3 separate regions of the Homo sapiens genome follow, and all the other regions are linked to region 1. The links are contacts of gene promoters, found by promoter capture Hi-C in blood cells and fetal thymus (Javierre and others, 2016). All regions are on one chromosome and are shown on one strand. The core of a region is centred on a gene start or on the middle of the fragment in contact, and the rest is flanking DNA. Distances in the headings are between cores, read along the strand shown.

Region 1 (3,769 bases), core at 452-2,951:
TAGGGAAACTGACACTCAGAGATATGAGGCAACTTTCTCAAAGTCACATAGCTAGGAAACAGCAATGCTAGCAAGCGCTTATGCCAGGATTCAAATCCAGGTTTCCCCATTCCAGTTCCCTAGGACTGCTAACCACAACATCACATCACCTGGTATGTACTTGACTTTCTCACTTTCCTAGTTGCCAAGCTCCCTGACAGCCATAACTGTCCTAATTACCTTTCTCTAATGACTAGCATAGGACCCAGAACACAATGGGGGATGAGTGGGGTGCCAATAAAAGCTTACTGAATTAGAAATCTTGCAATTTAAGAGGATCATGCATATTCTTGTGTATTTTTTGTGTCATGCAAACCCAGTTTGCGTCTCTCTCCCTCTCCCCACAAACCCCTGTACCCCAAGTCTCAGCATATGGGGCTAACTCAATGACCCATCCCATAACTTGTTGCAGTCCATCTCTGGTGCTGGCCCCTCTCTGGGGTTATCACCTGGGTTTCGGCCTCAAGCACACGCAGGCGCCGGCTGGCAGAAGACAGCAGGGTCTCCAGCTCCAGCTGCAGGGTGTCCAGCTCCTCGATGCCGATGCCATCATCCTCAGAGCGTGCCAGCACTGCCGTGTAGCGGGGACAGACCTTCAGGTGATCCACAGACTTGAAGTCGTGGAACTGCAAGGGGCAGTCTTTCAACTCACTCATGGCCCAGGATATGGGGATCCTGTGGAGCTGGAGAGGACAGGGCCATTGATGGGAGACAAAGTGGTCTGAGAAAAGCCCAAGGGCTTCTTACCTCCAGGGACAGCCTCAAGGAAGCCCAGCTTCAGTCCCTTACTGACAAAATTGATGGCACAGTTCCTACTCACAGGGCACTTAACTGGGTACCAAGCTAGGTGCAGAGCACTTTATCAGTTTATCTCACTGAATTTCTCACTCAGCACCATGAACAAGGACCATTGTGATCTCGTTTTTACAGAGAAAGAAACTGAGACTCTGTAAGGGTGGGTATGTGCCTATGCTTCCAAGATGCAATTTGAACCCCGCTAGTCTTGAGTCTGCACCCTGATCACCATGCTATACTGCTATGCCTTGCCTCGCCTTTCTGATGCTCTTTCCTTCCCTTCTATTTCTCTTGGGTTCTGCTAAGACTTTGAGTTCCAAGCACCCCATTCTTACCATGTTCTCTGGGACTCTTGGCCTCTTTTCTTACCCTATTCCACCTTTCTCCCTTCTCTAGTCACTAACAGTGGTTTAGAACGTGGGCTGGTAAGCCAGACAGACCTGGGTTCAAGCCCAGGCTTTACCATTCTCTACTTATATGCCCCTGAACATGTTATTTGACCTTTTTCAGTCTCAGTTTTTCCATCTGTAAAATGGGGACAAAAGAAGTCTCGGTCTGTTTCCCCATTAAAAGTCTGAATCTGAAAAATGGGGATAACAATAGTACCTACCTCCCTGGGATGTTCTGAGGATTAAGAGATGATGCCCGTCAAGAGCCCAGTTCAGTGTCTGGCACAGAAGTGGGACTGTTTAATGGCTGGCCCCGCCCGGGGGTCGCCCAAATGTCCCGCCTTCAGAGTCCTCGTTCTCTAGGGACACCCTAGTGCGACCCCCGCCCCCTCTACCTCCTCGCTGCGGCCTCCTACGGCCCCAGGGGCCGCGGGAGGGGGCGGGGAGTTCCGGTCGATGTGAGCAACCGCCCCGGAACTGGCTATGGGCGGGCCCCTTGCAGTTGACGCGGGGGCGGGGAGTCAGCGAGGGCGAGCCTACTGGAGTTTGCCGGGGGTGGGAAGAAGGTGGGCCTCGAGCAAAGCCGCTAGAGGTGGGGTGCGGGTGGTCGGCCTCAGGCGAGCCCCGGGGCACAGCCCGGGGCGGGAGGCGGAGCTTGGCGGCCGAGATCTCCGCGCTGCAGTTAGCCCCGCCGAGCGCCAGGAGCTGCGGGTAGGAGGGGCGAGAGAAAGGATGGGGGTACAGAACCGGAAGAAACGAAGGGCTCGTCCGCTTCGGCTTGTCCTAATTTGGTGCCCAATCTGAAGCTGGGCTGTACCATTGCATACCTGGGGGAGGCTGTGGCAAAGGTGACAAGAAGGCCGAAGGCACAAAGGGAAGCTGCACCCATTCCTGGAGGAGCTTAAATAGTGACTCGAGTGCAAGAATTTAAAAATACCGAGACAGCCCTAGGTGGAAAACTTCCGGAAGGCCCAAGCGTTCGTAAGGGCTCTCTACCCCGCTCGGAGCATAGATGGTACCGTCCGGAAGTCCGGGCGGAGACCGTAGCTGCGCTTCTCGCGAAAGGGCAGGCATCGCGGGGCTGGCCACTTCCGTACTTCCGCTTTCCGGCCCAGCCAGCGCCCGCGATGGTGAGAGAGCCGGGCCCCCGGCCAGGGACCCCCGGCTGTTCGGCCTCAGGGCAGTGGGTCGGTGGGAGATGTGGCTTTGCCGCAGGGGCGCGGGGCCGAGGGATGTCCGGGGGTTGTGGGGACACGATGAGGGTGGGAAAAAGAGACGGGGCGGGGGCCCGAGGTGAGGAAGGGGCGAGTGGGGGTACTCCCTGGTATGAAGTGGGCCTTGTGGCTTCACGGTCAGCCTTCGAAGCAGGTAGGGGCTTTTCCTGAGCCCTGTAGGAACCCGGAAGTGGGGTCTCCTAGGCTCTTTGGAGCATTTCGAGGGTACGTAGTCGGCCTCTTAGCCTCTGAGGCATGAAGCAAGTCCACCTGCCTATCCACAGTGGAACTTCACGACATACGCCCTTTGTCCTCTTCTGCCTTCCTGACCCTACAGTTGCTTAAGGCAGGCGGCCACACTTCCTTATCCCATTCTTGGTACCTCCAGCCCTGCTTCCACCCCATTGGAGGATCTCTCGTGTTGCTTCCATTCAGGCCCTTCCTGGTCAGAACTGAACTGTGTCAGCCTTAGTGTATGTTAGCTGTGATACTGCTCATCCCTCCCTTCCTGGAAGTCCTCCCTTTTTCATACATGTGGGCCTTTTTCATACATGTGGGCCTTTTTCATACGTGTGGGCATTCCTGGGAGTTGTGACTTTGGATGACCATCTCCCTCTTCGTCACACCTTCCCTGGTGATACCGATCTAGTCTCCTGGCTTCGATAACTTTCTTCATTCTGATGACTCCTAATCTGGCTTCTCAGCTCTCTTTCAAGGTTTGCCTGGATATCTTGAAGAGACCTTGAAATTAGACCTCTAGTTCAAAACTCATATTCTATTCTAAATTTGTTCTTCCTCCTGGGTTCCCTATCCTGGCAAACTTTTGTGACCTCATGTCTCTGCTAAAAATCTGTATTTTTTTTTTCTAGTGGGGCACATGCCTCTTGATTTTTAAAAGTTCAAGTTTATTGAGGTATTACATGAGACTACATCTGTTTTATTCATGAAAGGACAGGCGTCACGGAGCCAGTCACCCTTTTTAGGTTTACTTTCTATAACTGTTGACAAAGGCCAGGCGTGGTGGCTCACGCTTGTAATCCCAGCACTTTGGGAGGCAGAGGCGGGCGGATCACGACGTCAGGAGATCGAGACCATCCTGGCTAACACGGTGAAACCTCTTCTCTACTAAAAATGCAAAAAATTAGCCGGGCGTGGTGGTGGGCACCTGTAGTCCCAGCTACTCAGGAGGCTGAGGCAGGAGAATGGCGTGAACCCAGAAAGCAGAGCTTGCAGTGAGTCGAGATCGTGCCACTGCACACCAGACTGGGCAACAGAGTAAGACTCCGTCTCAAAAAAAAAAGCGTTGCAAAAACTTGCTGGGTATGGTGGCAT
Region 2 (3,769 bases), core at 912-3,411, 110 kb before region 1:
CCCAGAAAATCAAAGCTTTCTGAACGTGACTCATTCAAAGATTTGCATCCACCAGGGGGTTCTGTTTCCAGAGGACCTCATAGAGTCTGCTATTCCAGATCTGGGCTTTAGTTACTTTTACATTTTTCCTTTTAAATGTGTGTTCAGCCAGAGGAAGTACAGAGCTGCCTGACCTCATTTGATTATAGAAACATTAAAATTACTTCCACCATGCTCTTCTCCGTCATTGCACACCATGGAAGGGGCCTCTAGTCTTACTGGAAACATCTCTCTACCCTTAGCCCACACAGTCTGAAGGCTGCCAGCAGCTTTGCTTGCCACTTGCTTCAGACAGAACAAGTAGTTTTGTTTTTCTGCGACCTTTCCCATGTCCTGTTCCTCTGCCTGGCTGCCACCTCTCAGCTTCCTCTTGTCTGGCTGACATACTGCCCTTCAGGCTTTGGCTCGAGTGTCTGCTTCAGGAAGACTTCCCTGATCTGCCTCTTCCTTATCCCTGGCGAGTTGGATGCCTGCATCTATATTCCCATTAACCCCCTGGGCACATCCATCATGGAATTTTCCACTGAGCTGTAGTCACTGATTTAGAGATCTGCTTCCCTGAAATCCTGGAGGACAGGGACCCACAGCTTGTGTGTCCCAGCACAGAAACAGGCACAGAGCCTAGAACTTGAAAGACTGAGCCAGTGAGCAACAGAAAACATTCTGCCTCCCTGCTAGTTTCCCCTGTCCCCAGGTCTGGACAGCTCCCACCCAGCCTTGAGATCTCTCTTTCTTTGAAAGGCTGACCCATCTATGTTAAGCAACTGGGTGCTCCTAGATCACCAATGTCAGTACCCTGTTGTCCTGATAGCAGCAAGGTCCATCTTGTTTTCTCTATATATATCCAGACCCTAATCACAAGGTTTATGCTCACAGCAACTGTTTGAGTGTATGAAGTAGGGTGATGTCAGAGTTCCCCAATGCAGGTGTTTGCAAGAGAGGGAGCACTGGGGAGGAAAGCAGACCAGTTGTTTGTTATGGTCTGGAAGCCTGGAGAAGGAACAGGTTTGGGGTACCTGTGCTGTGGTCTCATGTCCCAGGCTGTGCCTAGACAGACTGAGTAGATAAAAGAACCGGCAGGCTTCCTTCTTTATGTGCTGCATGCAGAGGTCAAGTAGACTCTGCCCCAAGCCACCCTCTTTCTGGTCCCTTCCGGCACCATTTTTTCTCCTTATGCAGGTACAAACTGGATCTGATGAACTACTCAGCAAATGAGATGTGACAGTTCCAGGCACTGGTCCCAAGGATGTTTGCCTCTTTAGGAAGGGGTCCTGTGCGTGTGAGGAGGTACTCTGCTTAGTAGATGCAGGCCCTAGATCTAGGTCCCAGCTTGCCTGGCCCTTCCTGCAAGGCTCTGTGGCCTTGAACAGATGACCTCACTTCCCCCTGAAAATGGTGTTGGCAGTACCTATTTCAGAGTTGTGCCAGGCTCAAATATGATCACTGCTTGAAAGGGACTCCTGAACTGAAATACCAGACAGATTGTAATGATAATTATGAAGAGGCTGCTAGCTAGCTAATTCAGGGAAGTGAACACTGAAACTTCCAGGCGTGAAGGCAGCAGGGCTGGAGTGTAGCAGGCAGGCAGGCGCCTCCCAAGAGGCCACCTCTTCAGTGTTGCTCAACCTGTTTTGTCTCACTGGGGCTCCTAGCATGCTCTTCCTTGGCTGGGTGTGGGCTCTGCCTTTTCTGCCCGCAAAGCCCTGGGGTGCCGGTACCCTGTTCCTTTTCACCATCTCCCCAGGTGATCTCATCCATCGTCCACACCATGAGCCCACAGCCAGGCCTCTCTGATCCATACCTGCATCACCTTTCACACATGTCCCTTCAGGCGGCCCCTCAGACTCAAGCTGTCCAGAGTAGAGTTGGCCATGGCCCACCATTTACCCAGATGCTCACACCTGAAACTCGAGTTCTTTGCTCCCACCACATCCATCACCAGCTCCCATCGGTTCTCTAGTCTCTGCCCCTAGTGCAACTGCAATCCTTCTTGCCCTCGTCTCCTGTGCAGTGCCTAGCTCAGGCCACCACTGTCTCAGTGCATCTCACAGCTGAACCTGGGGCCTCACTGAGGAGTAACTAGAAATGAAGTGCTCAGATAGCAAGCACTGAAATGATAGAGCAGGGCCATCACTGTCACCCCTGCCTTAAAACCTACCACTGACTTCCCATTTTCCTCAGAATACAATGCAAGAACTTGTACATGGCCTACCCAGCTCCATGCAGTCTGGTCTTGCCTGTTCTTGTGACCAGCTGATCTTCCTGCAGCCCATGGCCGGGCACGGTGGCTCATGCCTGTAATCCCAGCACTTTAGGAGGCCAAGGCGGGCAGATCACGAGGGCAGGAGATCGAGACCATCGTGGCTAACACAGTGAAACCCAATCTCTACTAAAAAATTAGCCGGGCGTGGTGGCGGGCGCCTGTAGTGCCAGCTACTCGGGAGACTGAGGCAGGAGAATGGCGTGAACCCGGGAGGCGGAGCTTGCGGTGAGCTGAGATCGCGCCACTACACTCCAGCCTGGGCGACAGAGCGAGACTCCGTCTCAAAAAAACAAACAAACAAACAAACAAAAGAAGGCAGCCCTCTCCAGGTTCGCACGTGCTGTTTTCTCTGCCAGAAACACGTGTCTCCTTTCTCTGTTGCTTATGCTGTCTCATGTCATCACCTCTGAGAAGCCTTCTCTGATGTCCCTACAGATCAGGCTTGGCTCTCCAGTCATATGGTTACACAGCATCCTAGAGGTCCCCTTTTAGTTGCACACCTGCAGTGGTTAACTTTGTCTTCCCTCTCCCGTGACTCCATGATTGTTGAGGTCATATTCACCCTTGTGTGCCTGGTGCCAGGCCCTTCAGGAGGCATGCAGTGTGAGGCTTACTGAATGAATGAATGAGTGAATGAATGAATGATAGGAGCAGTTGTGGCAGGACACATGTGTCTTGCTGCCCTCCATGTAACCGAATTGAATTCCGTAGAGGTATGCCCCTTCTTTCTGTGTCCTAAGACCCCTCCCTGGGGCTGCTGTCCCTCAGGCACTCAGCATTGCCCCAGCTATGAAGAAGCAGCAAGGAACATTCTGCAATGACCTCCTAGTCCCTGAACACTAAGCCTTAGAGATGCCAAAACAGCCTCTGCCCTCATGGGGATTAGACTAGGAAAAGAGGCAACAACGTAACCATCACCTACATTACAGTTTTTACCAGTGGTCACAGAAACCCCAAAGAGAAGATAATTGGTCTGGGCCTTTGAAGGATGAGTAGGAGTTTACCAACCAGCAGAAAGAGTACTCTAGGCATAGAAACATAAGCAGAGGCATGGCATTTAGCTCAGCTCCCAGAGACTTTTTCATGAAGCACGTAGGATGAGAGAGTCAGGCACGAGCCTTGTTTGTTTGTTTGTTTGTTTGTTTTTTAGCATATCTCCTCGGTCATCACTTTGAGCAGTTCCCTCAGACTTCTGCTTCTTACTCTGGTGTTATAGGAAGAGTACCTACAGTGATTAAGAATGTGGACTTTGGAGTCTGGCAGGGCTGGATTTATCCCTCAGCTCAGCCGTGTGACCTTGGCCCTCTACCAGCCCAGCCCTCCCCAGCCTGTAGTTCCTGCCCCAGCCTTGGGAACTTGCTGCCCCTCCCTGATGGTCAGCATCTCCTCCAGACAGCCGTCATGGTGGCTGGCATTCCGCAGCTCTCTTGTCCTCGGCAGGGCCTGCCCTCCCCGGCTGCTGCAGTC
Region 3 (3,769 bases), core at 949-3,448, 88 kb after region 1:
GAATCTTGGCTCCCTCATGGATTTGCTGGGTGATTGAGAGCACCCACTATGTGCCTCAGTTCTCTCACCTATTAATTTGGTATAATAACCCCCACTTCCCAAAGTTGTTGTGAGGCTTACATGAGATCAGGAGTAAAAGCACCAAGCATAGTGTCTACTCCTTTTTATGCATGGTGTGGTGGTGGTGTAAGCAGCAGCATTAATATCACCCAGGGACTTCTTGGCAGTGCAAAATCTCGGGTCCCACTCCAGACCTCCTGAATCAGAATCTGCACTTGAACAAGGTCCCCTGTGACCTGTATACCCATTAAAGTTTGAGAAGTTCTGGCTTACAGCTCATAGGTGGCTCTCTTTCCATTCTGCCCATGACTTTCCTCACCTGGAGAGGGACTTGGGGTAGAGAAGGCTAAGGGACTTCATGGCGTATTCCATCCTTGTCAGCTGGACTGCGTTGGACCTGGGAAGGAGGCAGAAACAATTCATCAGGGTGAGATGAGAGGGTTCCCATCTCTCTCATTGTTAGGCAAGGTGCAACCCAACCCCTGTTCAGCAACCTTCCTCCCTATTCTTCTATCCCAACTCACACATACCTCCCCCAGCCCTTCTCCTGTCCGGCCCCATGCATGCCAACCAAGACCAAGCTGGAGACCCCACCCCTCTCCCCACCGGGTGCTCAGGCTCAGCCTCACTCAGCAGCTGCTGCTCCTGCCCCAGTCCCACTCACTCCATGTTTCTCATCCCCTGGCTCTGGTCACACTGAGCAGATAACCCAACTCAGGGCTGAAGAAGCCTTGCCCGATTTGTTCCTGTCCATGGGGACAGAGTCCACTTTACGCTGGCAGGAGGTGAGTCACACCACCTCACACTTCTGGGGACCGTTCCCTCACCTCTAGTCCAGAGACCTCACAGGCAGGCAGCCCAGTCAAAGCCTCCTCTCTCCCATGGGTCCTTGAGCAATCCGAGCCCCTTCCTGAGGCTTCACAGTGGCCAAAAGAACATTCTGTGATGATAGAGGCATGCCTTGTACATACTCTCCAATACCATTGCTACTAGCCCCATGTGGCTATTGAGTATTTGAAACATAACTAGTGTGATTCAGGAGCTGAATTTTTTTTTTTTTTGAGTTTCGCTCTTGTCACCCAGGCTGGAGTGCAATGGGGCGATCTTGCTCACTACAACCTCCGCCTCCTGGGTTCAAGCAATTATCCTGCCTCAGCCTCCCCCGTAGCTGGGATTACAGGCACCTGCCACCACGCCCAGCTAATTTTTAGTTTAGTTTCGTTTTGTTTGGATTTTTAGTAGAGACTGGGTTTCACCATGTTGGCTAGGCTGGTCTTGAACTCCTGACCTCAGGTGATCTCCCTGTCTTGGCCTCCCAAAGTGCGGGGATTACAGGCGTGAGCCACTGCACCTGGCACAGGAGCTGTATTTTTTACTTTATTGAATTTTAACTAATTTAAATTTAAATAGCCACATTGCCATGTGGCTGTTGGCACCCATATTAGATCACAGGTCTAAGCAGATAGCCCTGGGCTCATCTGTCACCACTTTTTCTCCTAAACCTCTGTGCTCCAACTCTTGAAGGGCCCAACCCTTTGCACAGATAGTTCCCTCCACCTGTAGTGCCCTTCTCTGATCCAGGACGAAATTTTTGCAGCCTTGAAGCCTCAGTTTCATTGCTTTCCACTCTTTAAAAGGAAAGTCTTCTTAGACCACTCCCAAAATTATTACACCTTCATCCTGCTCTTCCTAGCCAAGGGTGCCTCTGGGTCTGTTTCTGCTGTAGCCCCTCAGTCCCTGGATGCCTGGCCCTGAGGTCCTCTTCCTATTCGAAGCTCCCGGCACAGGTAGGGCTTCGCAGAGCAAGGGGCACAAGGGGTGGACATAAAACAAAAGTCCCCTTGCCAGCTGGGGACAATCACTCTTTGCTTTTAACAATTTGGGGGACTTTCCAGACCAGGCCCCACAGAGGCAGAAAGCCCCTTTCCCACTTAGCACTGCAGAAGCTCTAGTCCTAGCTACGTGGGAGGCTGAGGCAGGAGGATTCTGCTTGCCTCAGCCTCACCCACTTCGTATCCCTAGCAAAACTCTGCCAAGAGCTACCTAACCTGCTCTCCAGGAGCAAAGAAAAAAAAATCCCCAAACCCAAAACAATAACAAACTCCTTACCTCCCCCTCACAGCCTCCTGGAAATACTGCCCTGTCCCGCCCAGCCCTCCCTTCATTTATTTCCAGCCCCCATGAAGCTCCTCCCCAGCCTTCAGCCCCAGCTGGGGAAAAGAGCTTGGGGTGAGAGCTGCAAGCCAGCCTGACTTCCAGAAAAGGCCTAAAAGGAGGGGAGAAGGCATGTTTCGAAAGCTTTGGCAAAATGGATGGCCCATGACATGAGATCAAGCACAGAGGGCACAGAAAGCAGGCAGATGTGGGTTGTGGTCCCAACTCCACCCCATATCAGCTTGCTTGAGCTTAGACAGATCACTTGACTTCTGTGAGCCCGTTTCTCTTCTCTGTGTAATGACGATAATGATTCTTGTTTTATAGGGTAGTGGTGAGGATTAGTGACAATAAAAGTAAAGGGGCACAGTGGCTCATGCCTATAATCCCAGTGTTTTGGGAGGCTGAGGCGGGAGGATTGCTTGAGGACAGGGGTTGGAGGACAGCCTGGGCAATAGAGTGAGACCCTGTCTCTGAAAAAAAAAAAAAAAAAGAAAAGAAAAGAAAAAAGAAAAAAGTAGCCTGGGTGCCGTGGCTCACGCCTGTAATCCCAGCACTTTGGGAGGCCGAGGCAGGTGGATCACTTGAGGTCAGGAGTTTGAGACCAGCATGGCCAACATGGTGAAGCCCCGTCTCTACTAAAAATAGAAAAATGAGCCAGGCGTGGTGGTGTGTGCCTGTAATCCCAGCTATCTGGGAGGCTGAGGCAGGAGAATCGCTTGAGCCTGGGAGGCAGAGGTTGCGGTGAGCTTAGATCACACCACTGCACTCCATTCTGGGTGACAGAGTGAGACCCTGTCTCAAAAAAAAAAAAAAAAAAAAAAAAGTCCGGGCACGGTGGCTCACACCTCTAATCCCAGAACTTTGGGAGGCCGAGGTGGGCAGATCACAAGGTCAAGAGTTCGAGACCAGCTTGGTCAATATGGCGAAAACCCCATCTCTACTAAATATACAAAAATTAGCCGTGCGTGGTGGTGGGTGCCTGAAATCCCAGCTACTCAGGAGGCTGAGGCAGGAGAATCATTTGAACCCGGGAGGCAGAGGTTGCAGTGAGCCGAGATCACGCCACTGCACTCCAGCCTGGGTGACAGAGTGAGACTCTGTCTCAAAAAAATAAAAATAAATAAAAATAAAGGCTTTGCAAACATAAACACTCAATGGATCGAAGTGATTATTAGTATTACTGATAATTTTTTATTTTTATTTTATTATTTTTAATTTTTTTGTCTTTTTCTCAATTTGATAATGTACATATTAAATCATAGCAGAGAGTAAGACAAGCTGAAATGTGGAGTGGTTAAGAGTGTAAGATCTCTGACCCAGCAGTTCCACTTCTGTGTGTGTGCGTGTGGTGTATGTGTGTCATACAGAGCACACCTGTTGTCCCAGCTGCTCAGAAGGAGGCTGATGCAGGAGGATCACTTGAGCCCAGGAATTAAAATTTAGCCTGAGTAACATAGGGAGACCCTGTCTTTACAAAAGAAAAGAAACAAAACCAAAACCAAACAAAATTACATATATATGTGTATATATATACACACACACATATATATAT

What was found. The method cuts DNA at HindIII sites, captures the fragments that hold promoters and counts their contacts. A CHiCAGO score of 5 or more calls a contact.
Region 2: a fragment that was not itself captured here is called in contact with the fragment with the promoter of TADA3 in region 1 in 1 of 17 cell types (neutrophils); the score reaches 6.3 in neutrophils.
Region 3: a contact is called between the fragment with the promoter of CIDEC here and the fragment with the promoter of TADA3 in region 1, in 6 of 17 cell types (total CD8 T cells, erythroblasts, monocytes and 3 more). The highest score is 6.1, in total CD8 T cells.

The regions. Positions count from the first base shown.
Region 1 is chr3:9,790,772-9,794,540 of GRCh38, forward strand. TADA3 (transcriptional adaptor 3) reads right to left here and starts at 1,702. Exons shown (of 9, transcript NM_006354.5): 1 at 1,445-1,702; 2 at 489-722. The coding sequence starts at 695. ARPC4-TTLL3 (ARPC4-TTLL3 readthrough) reads left to right here and starts at 1,777. Exons shown (of 12, transcript NM_001198793.1): 1 at 1,777-2,353. The coding sequence starts at 2,351. It overlaps ARPC4 (actin related protein 2/3 complex subunit 4), which reads left to right and starts at 2,311. Exons shown (of 6, transcript NM_005718.5): 1 at 2,311-2,353. The coding sequence starts at 2,351. It also overlaps a transcript of OGG1 not described here. RefSeq lists enhancers at 29-529, 1,634-2,160, 2,087-2,186, 2,161-2,687, 2,887-2,976 and silencers at 1,517-1,606, 1,667-1,956. The HindIII fragment of the contact is 10,858 bases long and covers 282-3,769 here.
Region 2 is chr3:9,678,252-9,682,020 of GRCh38, forward strand. The region is part of intron 9 of MTMR14 (myotubularin related protein 14); the gene reads left to right. Among named protein-coding and RNA genes, the nearest start is that of CPNE9, 24 kb to the right of the region's middle. The HindIII fragment of the contact is 4,297 bases long and covers 14-3,769 here.
Region 3 is chr3:9,878,055-9,881,823 of GRCh38, forward strand. CIDEC (cell death inducing DFFA like effector c) reads right to left here and starts at 2,199. Exons shown (of 7, transcript NM_001321142.2): 1 at 2,170-2,199; 2 at 888-1,000; 3 at 380-457. The coding sequence starts at 432. The HindIII fragment of the contact is 5,760 bases long and covers 1-2,356 here.